Linked DNA regions of Homo sapiens: all the other regions are linked to region 3. Evidence: promoter capture Hi-C in 16 types of primary human blood cells and fetal thymus (Javierre and others, 2016). All regions are on one chromosome and are shown on one strand. Each heading gives the region's core, a stretch centred on a gene start or on the middle of the fragment in contact. The rest is flanking DNA. Distances are from core to core; before and after follow the strand shown. Region 1 has its middle 6.0 kb from the start of SCYL3. Region 2 overlaps SCYL3 (SCY1 like pseudokinase 3). Region 3 holds the start of F5 (coagulation factor V).

Evidence for each region. Contacts are between HindIII fragments. The CHiCAGO score rates a contact against its expected background, and 5 or more counts as called.
Region 1: a fragment that was not itself captured here is called in contact with the fragment with the promoter of F5 in region 3 in 1 of 17 cell types (neutrophils); the score reaches 6.8 in neutrophils.
Region 2: a fragment that was not itself captured here is called in contact with the fragment with the promoter of F5 in region 3 in 1 of 17 cell types (neutrophils); the score reaches 5.9 in neutrophils.

What each region holds. Positions count from the first base shown.
Region 1 is chr1:169,898,087-169,901,764 of GRCh38, reverse strand. No RefSeq gene overlaps it. Among named protein-coding and RNA genes, the nearest start is that of SCYL3, 6.0 kb to the right of the region's middle. The HindIII fragment of the contact is 5,358 bases long and covers 1-3,678 here.
Region 2 is chr1:169,868,593-169,872,463 of GRCh38, reverse strand. It overlaps SCYL3 (SCY1 like pseudokinase 3), which reads left to right. Exons shown (of 13, transcript NM_020423.7): 6 at 2,107-2,209; 7 at 3,425-3,536. Among named protein-coding and RNA genes, the nearest start is that of SCYL3, 23 kb to the left of the region's middle. The HindIII fragment of the contact is 1,876 bases long and covers 500-2,375 here.
Region 3 is chr1:169,584,150-169,588,313 of GRCh38, reverse strand. It overlaps F5 (coagulation factor V), which reads left to right and starts at 1,833. Exons shown (of 25, transcript NM_000130.5): 1 at 1,833-2,085. The coding sequence starts at 1,928. RefSeq lists enhancers at 1,358-1,857, 1,858-2,359. The HindIII fragment of the contact is 11,391 bases long and covers 1-4,164 here.

The DNA of each region.
Region 1 (3,678 bases), core at 1,112-3,611, 310 kb before region 3:
GTTGAAGATGCCATATATGCCTGAGTTCTAAGCCACCTCTTTGAGTATCTCCTATGTGTATATGAAATACACATGAATAAACTTCTGTTTGTTTTACTCTTCTCAATCTTTGTTATAGGGGCCCCAGACAATGAAATTAAGAGGGGGAAAAGGAACGATTATTTTTCCTCCTTTATACAACTTTACATTCAGTTCCTCATCTCTTTATTAAATTATCTTTAAAATTACAAAAATACATGCATGTAATCCCGGCACTTTGGGAAGTTGAAGCAGGAGGCAAGGTGTTCAAGACCAGCCTGGGCAACACAGCAAAACCCTGTCTCTACAAAAAATAATTTAAAAAATGTATCTGGATGTGGTGGCACATGCCTGTAATCCTTGCTGCTTGAGGGGCTGGGATGGGAGGACTGCTTGAGGCCAAGAGTTCAAAGTTATAATGAGCTATGATTGCACCATTGTACTTCACCCTGGGTGACAGAGCCTGGACTCTGTCTCTTAAACAAATAAACAAAAACAATGTAGGCTCACTGTAACACATAAAACAATATGCAGATATATAAAAAGGTATATAAAGAAAGTAACCTCTCCCTACCTTACATGGTGAATGTTAACAGACTAGTATATATTTTTCTATACTTCCATTCATTCATTCATCAGTAAATAATTGTTGAGCATCTATAATGTTCCAAGCATTGTTCTAAGCATTTATGGCAGATCATTGAACAAAAACAGATTTTTTTCCCTTGTGAAACTTAACATTCTAGCAGGGGAGAAATAAACCATTAAAATGTAATTTTTTTAAAAAAGTACAATGAGGTTTCTCAGGCAAATATAAAATGAACACATGTCAAAGACTCTATTTAATGTTTTTATTAATGAGGGAATCAGTAAGATTTTAAACTAGTCCAAATAGCAGCTGAGAAGATAGGTGTATATGTAGGCAATTTGATAAAGACATGTCAGGTTCAGGTTGCTGGGTTAATAACTTACAGGACAATAAACTGTAACCATTAAGATGATTTGCTGTGCTGGACAAACTTATTTACATCTCTAGTGGATGAAAATGAAAAAGTTAGCCTCTGCCCCTAAAAAGGTAATAAAGAAGTAGTAAAATAACCTAGTCAATAGGAATTTAATCCAGAATTGCATGGGAAGAAAGCCACAGTAACCTCTTTTGCCTATTTTAAAGTTTCAGATAATTGTTTTCTCTCAAAACCAAAAGCCATAATACATAAGCAAATTGTCATATTTCATCAAATATATGATGCCATCACATTTAGGAAGCATCAATATATTTGGTACCACTAAGAAAAAATTATTGACAAATTATATTATGCCATTTGTGGTAAAATGCATTCTGACCTTCAGGGATGTTAAAATGTGAAAAACTATAGTTTTTACAATCTAGAAAATACAGTATATGGCTGTTTATAAGACGGTCAGTGCTATGGAGGGAAAAAGCAAAAGAAAACAGGATAGGAAGCACCAGGAGTGTAGCAGGAAGGAAGGTAAACGTTGTAGAATTAGATAGGGTGGATCAGGACAGACTTCATTGAGAAGACGAGATCTGAACAAAAAATAGAAGTAACAGACTTAGTCAAATGGACATGTGGGAAAAGAGAATGACAGGAAAAGGAAGCGCTAGAGCAAAAGTCCTAAGGCAAGAGCTCACCTGGCATGCTGACAGGACAGCAAGGAGGCCACTGAGCATGGACCAGAGTTAGTGAGCAGGAGGATAGCAGTGAGGCCAAAGGAGGGAGGCCTTAGATCATTTAGGGCAGTTCTCAAACCTTCCTGCAAGGAAGGTGCCTGCAAATCACCTAAAGATCCTGTTAAAATGTAGATTCTGACTCGACAATCTAGCGTGAGGCCTCAGCTTTTGCATTTTTAACATGCTTCCAGAGGATGCTCATGTTGCCTTCAAATATTAATTAACCACCCCTACAGGATAGATCTAAGTTAGTACACATCTGTATCTCCCTGAAGGCTGAAGTATTTCAAAGAAGAGGTAGATATATAATGCACACATTGTTTGCCCCAAATCTTTCTCCCAGGAGTATGATTCCAAGATGATTCATGGCTCTTTGAAGTTGAGAAGCAATTCACACTTCAGAGGCTTTTAGCATCTGAAAGATTTCAATGAGAAGTCTATACTCCTGGGGCAGATACTACAAACACTTCAGCTATCTCTAACTCAGATCAATACTAGTGGCTTTAAGGATGTTTAAAAGTGAATTTTCATGGCCAAAATAAGTAATTTCAAGATGGACAGAATGAATAGAAATGTTGCCATGCCTTACATGATCAGAGTATGAGAATCTAGTGAGTCTAGCAATCTACACACTTTGGAAAGGTGCCCTAGATTTAGGATTTCAGACCAGCCCCATATGGAGAAGATTACAAGAAGATTTTGTCACCCAGCTCTAATGAGGATAGCTGAGTCTGCTATTAGAATACTGTCCCATCTTCCTGCAGTGGATGGACCTTTCATGCAAGATGCTATTCAAGCTCCTACACAAGGAAGTGGAACCTCACTGAGTTTGTATAACAGCTCTACTGCCTGTCTTTAAACCTTGCTAATAAACGTGTGAATGTGTAGAATCCCACCTCAGACTTGCTTTCATTCTCTCTTTGTAGTGGTAGCAAGGTTATGGTGGAACTTAGAAAACACATACTTCTCATTAGAGAAATCTTCCAATATCTATGCAAAGTTCCTAAAAACAACGAGAGAACAAAGTGGCTTAGGTCCAGTTCAGTTTTCTATAAGGTATCCACTACTTATGGATGCTATATGTATTTATCTGAAATGTGCCTGAAGGAGGGTTTGTCATTCATGCAAGTTTCCCCCTTTACACTTCCAGATTCTAATTGCAATTATGCAATTACACAAATTATTGAGGTAGAACATTAAATAGAAATCACTTGAATAACTTTTACTCTCTTTGGTTTTCAGGTAGAGCTTGTAAAAAAGTTAGTTCAAATCAAGTTGGAAAAAAATAATTAAGTTGGATGGCTAAGGCTTTTATAGAACCAGGAATATATCCAAGATACTTATAGTCTACTTGGGAATCTAAGTTAGAAACATGAAAAAGATTAATTAAAAAAACACCTAAAAGTCAAGCTGAATACCATTGACATGTTTTGATTTGAATTAAGAAGAGGATTGGTTGGAAGTAAAATTCAGGTTGATCCTTAAACAGTATGACAAGAAAAAATTATTTCTATTAAGAAAACAAACTATTTGTTTCTAACTGTCCCACCAGCCACATTCCAAGGACAGCGGATTCAGGTTGTTGGAGATTCTTTTCTTTCCTGGCCTTAGACATATTTAAAATGAGGACTGAGGAATCAGTGAGGGAATACAAGATTTCTATGCATAAGAAAGGCAGAAGGAGCTCAGAGAGCAGCTCCAGGGAACTGAGAACTGGAACCAGAGCTATAGAGGGCTCTGTGGGGTAAGGGCTGGGAGGCAGAGAGATGTAGGGAGGGTGCCTGGGACATGCAGTGTGCTCTCAGTAAATTCATTTGTGTGTTTAATATTTACTGAGTACCTAGTATGTTCTAGGCACTGTGTTATGTGCTAGAAATATGGCAGGAAAGAAAGAAATGAAGGAAGGAAGCCCTGTTTTCAGGGAGCTGATGTTCTAGCTGTGGGACAGAGATGCTGAACAAATATGT
Region 2 (3,871 bases), core at 188-2,687, 280 kb before region 3:
CTAGTAGAGGTTCTCCATAAGGGCCCTGCCCATGCAGCAAATTCTGCCTGGGCATCCAGGCATTTCCATACATCTTCTGAAATCTAGGTGGAGGTTCCCAAACCCCAGTTCTTGACTAATGTGCACTTGCAGGCTCAACACCATGTGAAGCTGCCAAGGCTTGGGGCTTGCACCCTCTGAAGCCACATGCTGAGCTCTACGTTGGCCCCTTTCTGCCATGGCTAGAGCGGCTGAGATGCAGGGCACCAAGTCCCTAGGCTTCACACAGCATGGGGACCCTGGGCCTCGCCCATGAAACCACTTTTTCCTCCTAGGCCTGCAGGCCTGTGATGGGAGGGGCTGCCATGAAGATCTCTGACATGCCCTGGAGACATTTTCCCCATTTTCTTGGGGATTAACATTTGGCCCCTCATTACTTATGCAAACTTCTGCAGCTGCCTTGAATGTCACCTGAGATTTTCTTTTCTATTGCATTGTCAGGCTGCAAACTTCCCAAGCTTTTATGCTCTGTTTTCCTTTTAAAACTGAATGCCTTTAACAGCACCCAAGTCACCTCTTGAATGCTCTGCTGCTTAGAAATTTCTTCCGCCAGATACCCTAAATCCTCTCTTAAGTTCAAAGTTCCACAGTTCTTTAGGGCAGGGGCAAAATGCCACCAGTCTCTGCTAAAACATAACAAGAGTCACCTTTGCCCCAGTTCCCAACAAGTTCCTCATCTCCATCTGAGACCACCTCAGCCTGGACCTTATTGTTCATATCACTAGCAGCATTTTTGTCAAAGCCATTCAACAAGTCTCTAGGAAATTCCAAACTTTCCCACATTTTCCTGTCTTCTTCTGAACCCTCCAAACTGTTCCAGCCTTTGCCAGTTACCCAGTTCCAAAGTCCCTTCCATATTTTCAGGTATCTTTTCAGCAACGCCCCACTCTACTGGTACCAATTTACTGTATTACTCTGTTTTCACGCTGCTGATGAAGACATACCCAAGACTGGGCAATTTACAAAAGTTCCACGTGGCTGGGGAGTTCCTTAAAATCATGGCAGAAGGCAAAAGGCACGTCTCACCTGGTGGCAGACAAGAGAAGAGAGCTTATGCAGGGAAACTCCCCTTTTTTAAAGCCATCAGATCTTGTGAGGCCCATTCACTATCATGAGAACAGGGCAGGAAAGACCTGCCCCCCATAATTCAGTCACCTGCCACTGGTTCTTCCCAGGACACGTGGGAATTGTGGGAGTTATAATTCAAGATGAGATTTGGGTGGGAAAACAGTGAAACCATTATCAGTAGTTGCACTTTGCTGGAATCCATAATAATTATGGAAGCAAAAACCCTAGTCCTTTCTTGTATGTCACCCAAACCATTCATCTATCTCTAGCTGCCCATTACTTAGGATTTCAAGATGCACAGAAGAATGATTATTAAGAGTGCTGGTAAAGAAAAATTCTATTTACCAATAAATTCAAAAGCAGATGCTCCTTCTATAAATTTGTTCTTATAGCCACTATAAATAATCCCCAAAGATATATTTAGTGTGCTTTACAGGAAATATGAACTCAACTATAAACTTAAGTATAGACCTAAGACTTGAAATAAATCAGATTTATCCAAATCAGTATTATGTATATATACTAGTGTTTTTAAAATCGGTGATTTGCGGGTTTTAAGTCAATTTAGGGGGTCCTGACTAGCATTTTATAAAAAAAAAAAGAATAAAAGAACATGTCTTTGGGCATCTTAGATAGTAAGGCTAAGCACTGTTTTATGAAACTTTTGTTTCCATTATGTGTGTATTTATGCACGTGTATGTATAGTAGAGCATGATATAAGACATATTCTTTACCATGGATTGCTGTGAAAATATTTGTAAAAGCCACCGACATGTGCCATATTCTAACCTTTTTAAAAATTTTTGCTCATTTTAATGTTTTACAATCTTCAACAAATTCTATTCACTAATAGTGTTAAGAATCTATACATTCATGTGTGGTGGTCTGAAGATAGATTTGAGTATAATAAATACAAACATGGGAGAAGGTGCTTCAGAGAAAATTAGAAATGGCTTATAAGGCAGATCCTCTAGTTTTAATTGTCTTCACTGCTTTTAGTCTCCAGAATTCACAACTCTCCCAGAGTGTCATGGACATGCCCGGGATGCCTTTTCATTTGGAACATTGGTGGAAAGTTTGCTCACAATCTTAAATGAACAGGGTGAGTTGGAGTTATACTACTGCATCTATAGAATAAGTAGGAAAATCATCCATGACGTATTCTGTGTGGAATTCAAAGGACTACAGTCTTTGAGCACAGTAAGGAATCTTTTGCTTACCAGGTAACTTTTTTAGGGCAGATACTAAGAACAGTAAGGAAAGAAGCTTTGGGTTTCATTAGTTTGCATGGTGAAAAGAATTTTAAGTAGGAAGCACTTTGAACTATGGCTGTCAGTATCATGTGTGATTACCTTATTAATTGGTAATAGTACTTAAGCGGTCTAAATGTAGACTCTATTCCTTATTGAACCGGCCAATAAGTACATAACTATCATTAATGATTTATATGTAATAATCTGAATAATAGGGTAAAATTCATAATTTTTTGTTAAATTGAGCTCAACATTTCTTTATTCTTTCAAAGCTCATTTGATTTATTTTCCTATTAATTTACTCTTCACTTTTTTCTTTCATTGCCTCTTAAAGCTCAGGCTGCTAAAGACATTGTTTTCTCCTCTCTTCTGTGTTCTCTAACTGCATGCTTGGCAGCCTGCTTCACTCTCCTGTGCCCACTTTAGGACTTTAATTTTCCACTCATTGAGTTTACTGAGGCATGTGTCACAGTAGGCCCCTTATTGGCCTACATCTCACATGGCTCAAGCTTTGTGCCAGTTCTAATGCGGTTTATTCTGCCAGGCTTATGCAGTGTTCTGATTCAGCTGTCAGCTCTAAATTGTCCCATCCTAAATACTTGAGAATTAAATCCTAAGGCCCAAAGGCATCCATTGTGTATAATGAACTAACTATTCTATGTATTTAGAATGGTAGCAATTATTTACTATCCTTGGAAGAATTGTAAATATAATCATTCATATAACTGTTCTGTGGATGAGGAACCCCTGTTGAGAAAGACCCTCAAACCTATCACTGTTAGCCCTTCTTCTTTGGGCCTGAGCTGGGTTAAATGGATAATCAGGAAATGAGAGGGTATAGAAGGGAATGGCACCTGGGGTGGGGTTTGATGGTGGTGGCAGGACAACTTTCTACACCTGCCAATGAGTTTTGCCTAAGGCAAGCAGGAAGCTGTTTAGCAACAGCCAGGGCTTTGTTTGTTTGGGCTTTTACAGGTTGGTTTTTGCTCTCGGCAGTCTCCAGCTATAGAGGTCCTGAAAAGAGGGAGAAGGCATTGGAAACTAACTGTAGCTCTGGATTTCAGTTTCAGCGGATGTTCTCTCCAGCTTTCAACAGACCTTGCACTCAACTTTGCTGAATCCCATTCCAAAATGTCGGCCAGCGCTCTGCACCTTACTATCTCATGACTTCTTCAGGTGAGGGCATCTGGTGTGGTGACGCCAGCTGCTTCCGGAACACTGCTGCCTGCTCTTGTGCCTTGGATAAGTGGCAGTGGGGGGTTTTTGGAGGACCAAATGATGCAGTTTCTGTTGTTAATTATTAGGAGAGATTGAATCATGTCCACAGGAGAAAATAGAGGAAGAAATTGGGTTGTCTGTCAGTTTCCTATTATAGATAGGAAGTTTTAGAAATCCTTGATTGTCTTGAAGGCTTGGATTTAGAAACTGTAGCCAGATTTATTAGGGCTTCTAATAGTGAAGAAGCTAGGTGTGTCCACTGGTTTACAGTTGTAAGTTAATTGAAAAAGTTA
Region 3 (4,164 bases), core at 584-3,083:
TCAATCAGTAGGCTAGGTGTTCTAGGACTTTGGTCTCAACCCTGTTTCCTGAGTCAGAATCTACATTTTGTAAAAGTTCCCCTGGGAATTCTGATGGTCTGCCAACTTTGGGAGACACTGATAATATTGTAGATAAAGAAGTGTAAGCAACTGTTCAGTTAGGGAGACAATAGATACCTGCATGGAATAACAAAAGGTAATTAACATGATTATATAATTTGAATAGTGTTGTAATAGTTCATAAAATGGAAAAGCCAATTTGAGCCCAGAATCTGGGAGATAGGCAGAACTCTGGACTGTAAAGAATGGCCCAGCAAAGAGGAAGAAAATGGGCATTCTAAGTTGGTGCAATAATATCAGCACAGGAGAAAAGACAGAATATTGGGGGGAGTGGGGAGGGAGGAAGAGGCTGTTGATGAGCCTGATATCATTAACAGAGACCTCATGTGAGGTGCCAGATTACAATTTATTGAATGTACTGAATGCATAAAGCATAAGACAGAAACCTGGAGCCATGCAGATACAGGGAACCCAGGACAAGTCATTATGATGCCTCAGACAATATAATTCGCAGATTCTCTATCAATAGCAAAGTAAGATTTAAGGTGCTGTGAAACAGTCAGATCCTTCAAGAAAAACAAGAATACAAGGGGTCCTGGAGACAGGAAAATATGATCATAATAATAAATTTGTGATTCCTTCTTTCTCTCTTTTTCTCTTTCTTTCTTTTTCTTTCTTTCTTTTTTTTTTTTGATGGAGTTTTGCTCTCGTTGCCCAGGCTGGAGTAAAATGGCATGATATCAGCTCACTGCAAACTCCACCTTCCAGGTTCAAGCAATTCTCTTGCCTCAATCTCTCGAGTAGGTGGGATTACAGGTGTCCACCACAACGCCCGGCTAATTTTTTATATTTTTAGTAGAGAAGGGTTTCACCATGTTGGCCAGGCTGGTCTTGAACTCCTGACCTCAGGTGATTCACCCGCCTTGGCCTCCCAAAGTACTGGGATTACAGGCGTGAGCCACTGCGCCTAGCCTCTGTGTGTTAAGTGCTGGAACTATAGTTTACAGTAGCATTTTATCCTCCCAACATACCCTATCAGGAAAAATTATTATTGTCATCCTTATTTCACAGATGTCAAAACTGAACAGAGAGGTACAGTAACTTGCCCAAGACAACACAGCTAGTAAGTGAAACTGAAATCTGGACAACTGATTTTTTTCAGCCAAGCTCTTCAAGCCCGCTGCTATGCTGCAGCTTAGCTGGCGACAGGCCCTTATCAAGGCAGAACTGTGCCTTGATAGAGGCCAGGAAGGCGATTCAGAGCAGTAGGCCTTGTCCATGTGTTTGTTCCCTGCTTCTTCACCACTTGAAAATAGTGTTTCAGTGCCCAGTAACAGGGCACAATACTCTTTTCCTCAGATTAAAAGGGGAGCCATCTGCTTAAGGTGGTTGGGTGCCACTGCACTGCACAGAAGGTTCTCCAAGTGTGAGCTTGGACCCAGGCAGGCCTCAGGTCAGTGGTAACGGACGACTGCTTCCGTGGTGTTGGCAGGTGGAAATGGAGGGATACAGCTTTGTCCGGCTCATGAATCCCTGGGCATTGTCCCGCCTGCTAGAGCCTCTGATCTCTGCCCCTTCTTCACCTGCAGTAAAACAGTCACTAGTTTGGTTGCTCTCCCTAATACCTCTGGTCACTGGGAGCTGTGATCTCACCAAACCCCTGCCAGGAAAAGCCCCAGAAAAAGCGGAGGGAGTGAGAGCCAGAGGCTGCTGCTGCCGTTTGCAAGAACTGCAGGGGAGGAGGACGCTGCCACCCACAGCCTCTAGAGCTCATTGCAGCTGGGACAGCCCGGAGTGTGGTTAGCAGCTCGGCAAGCGCTGCCCAGGTCCTGGGGTGGTGGCAGCCAGCGGGAGCAGGAAAGGAAGCATGTTCCCAGGCTGCCCACGCCTCTGGGTCCTGGTGGTCTTGGGCACCAGCTGGGTAGGCTGGGGGAGCCAAGGGACAGAAGCGGCACAGCTAAGGCAGTTCTACGTGGCTGCTCAGGGCATCAGTTGGAGCTACCGACCTGAGCCCACAAACTCAAGGTAACTCAGGTGTGGAGTCCGGGTGGGCTTCTCTAGAGAGGAAAATCTATTTCTTTTAGAGAACATTCCCTTTGCAATGTCATGGCTTTTTTTTTTTTTAACTTCAGGTAAGTAAATATAACTAATAGGAGAGTATACTGAATTAAATAAACTGGGCAAATGCTAATTTTGCATCCAACAATGTAGTTTATCATTCTGAGGGTTTAGAAAGCACCCTATTTGATTGGTTAGATGCTACCTTCTTTTCAAGTTTATTTTCAATACAGTTTTGTTAGTATGTTTGTGTTGGCTTATATATTGGTTAATTCAAAGGCACCAGGCACTTGCTCCCTCATTAGCCCTTCCTGCAAACTCCTGTTCCAGATTTTTAGTTGTATAGTATTTTTATGAGACTCCTAGTTACATATTATTTATTCCATTGTCTACATAGCTTCATCTTCTAAAACTAAAAATGAACACCTTGTGCTTTTTGTCATATAATTTTATTGCTGCCTTATAAATGACTTTCAAAATATCATCAGTTCTTGTATGTTTTTGTACTTTCACCTTTTTTCTGCTTCATATTTGACTTATTTATCCTATTGAATGTGACTCTTCATTTTTTTTTCTCTCTGTTCATCATGTCCTGGGATATGGTTTACCTTGGCTACTTAAAGGCATATGTAACTGAGAGGAGGTTTAATTCAGATAAAATACTATCCTTGAGTTGCAAACTATTTTTTCTAATTGAAATGTTAAAAATAAGACTTCTCAGAAATTAACTAAATCATACAGTCTATTCAATATTTCCAGTTAGTTATTTTTTAAATGGTAAACCTGCTAGTGTGACTCACTTTTTTTCCTTACATCACACTTCATTATGAAAGATGTGTTCCTCTTTTACAATTACAAAACCAAAGTAATCTGCCAAAAAATAATGTAATATTTTGAGATCTTTTAGTGTATAATATTAACCTTTTTAAAACTCTCATTGTAACTGGGTTATTTTGGAGGGTATTACATACCATCTTGGTCTTATAATAAGAAGAGATCCCTCCTTCTCAAAAATAATCATTTTAAATATCGTACTTCAAAGTGATAATCTAGGTCACACCCACACCCTTTGGGAACTGCCGTAAGCTAAAACCCCAAGGAAAATAACAGTCCTTCTAACACTAATCTTGCCTGCTCATGAGTAGAATGCAGACTTGGTTGTTGGCTTTCTTGTAGCATGCTGGGTTCATGCTTGGGAGTTTTTTCTCTTGTCTGTAGTTAGCGTTGAAAATAACAAGCAAAATACCGGAGGCAGAACCAGATAGGGCAAAGGTCTGATTCACATGGTGAGTACACAGGGAACCATGACTGGTCATTCTGTCCCCTCATCCTGTGGGTAAGTTTCCAAAGTTCTGGAGATTCGTTCCTCTGGTAGGAATTGTTGAGTCAAAACCATAGAAACACAACCCAGACAAACTGTCATATTGTTTAACCCTAAATCATATCATTTCTCTCTAGCATTTTCTTATGAAAAATCTAATCCATATATCTGGCTGCTTAAACTAAGAACTTGTTCTAACTTGTCCTGCCCCTAGAGCTATGATACTCACTAGGTGAATATCAACATAGCCAACTCCATCTTTTGGCAAAGTGTATTTTAGCACAAAGCAGACATCTATCTACTTATTTCATATAATATTAGCAGGACAATGCCTTTTAAAGGTAAAATGTATCTATTATTCTTGCTCCAAGTCTAAGGTGAACACTTTCAAAAATTTCCTTAGAAAACTTGTTTAGTCACTCACATGTATACAAAGAGATATTGAAGAAAAGATATACATACATTTTCCTTCTAGGGTTCTAGCTTTATATGATTTTGTGATTATGAACAAATCATCTTTAAACAATCCTTATAAATGAAAAACTCGTCGTACACATTGTTTGAATTCATATGATCTGTAACTTTTTAATCAGATAGATTATTTTCCAATAGAAATTGTTCAGATCAAAATAGACATACCTCAGTATGAATACACAGCATACATAGTAAAAACATGTTAGGAAACATCTCTCTGTTGAAATTACTCCACGTAAGAGACTGATATT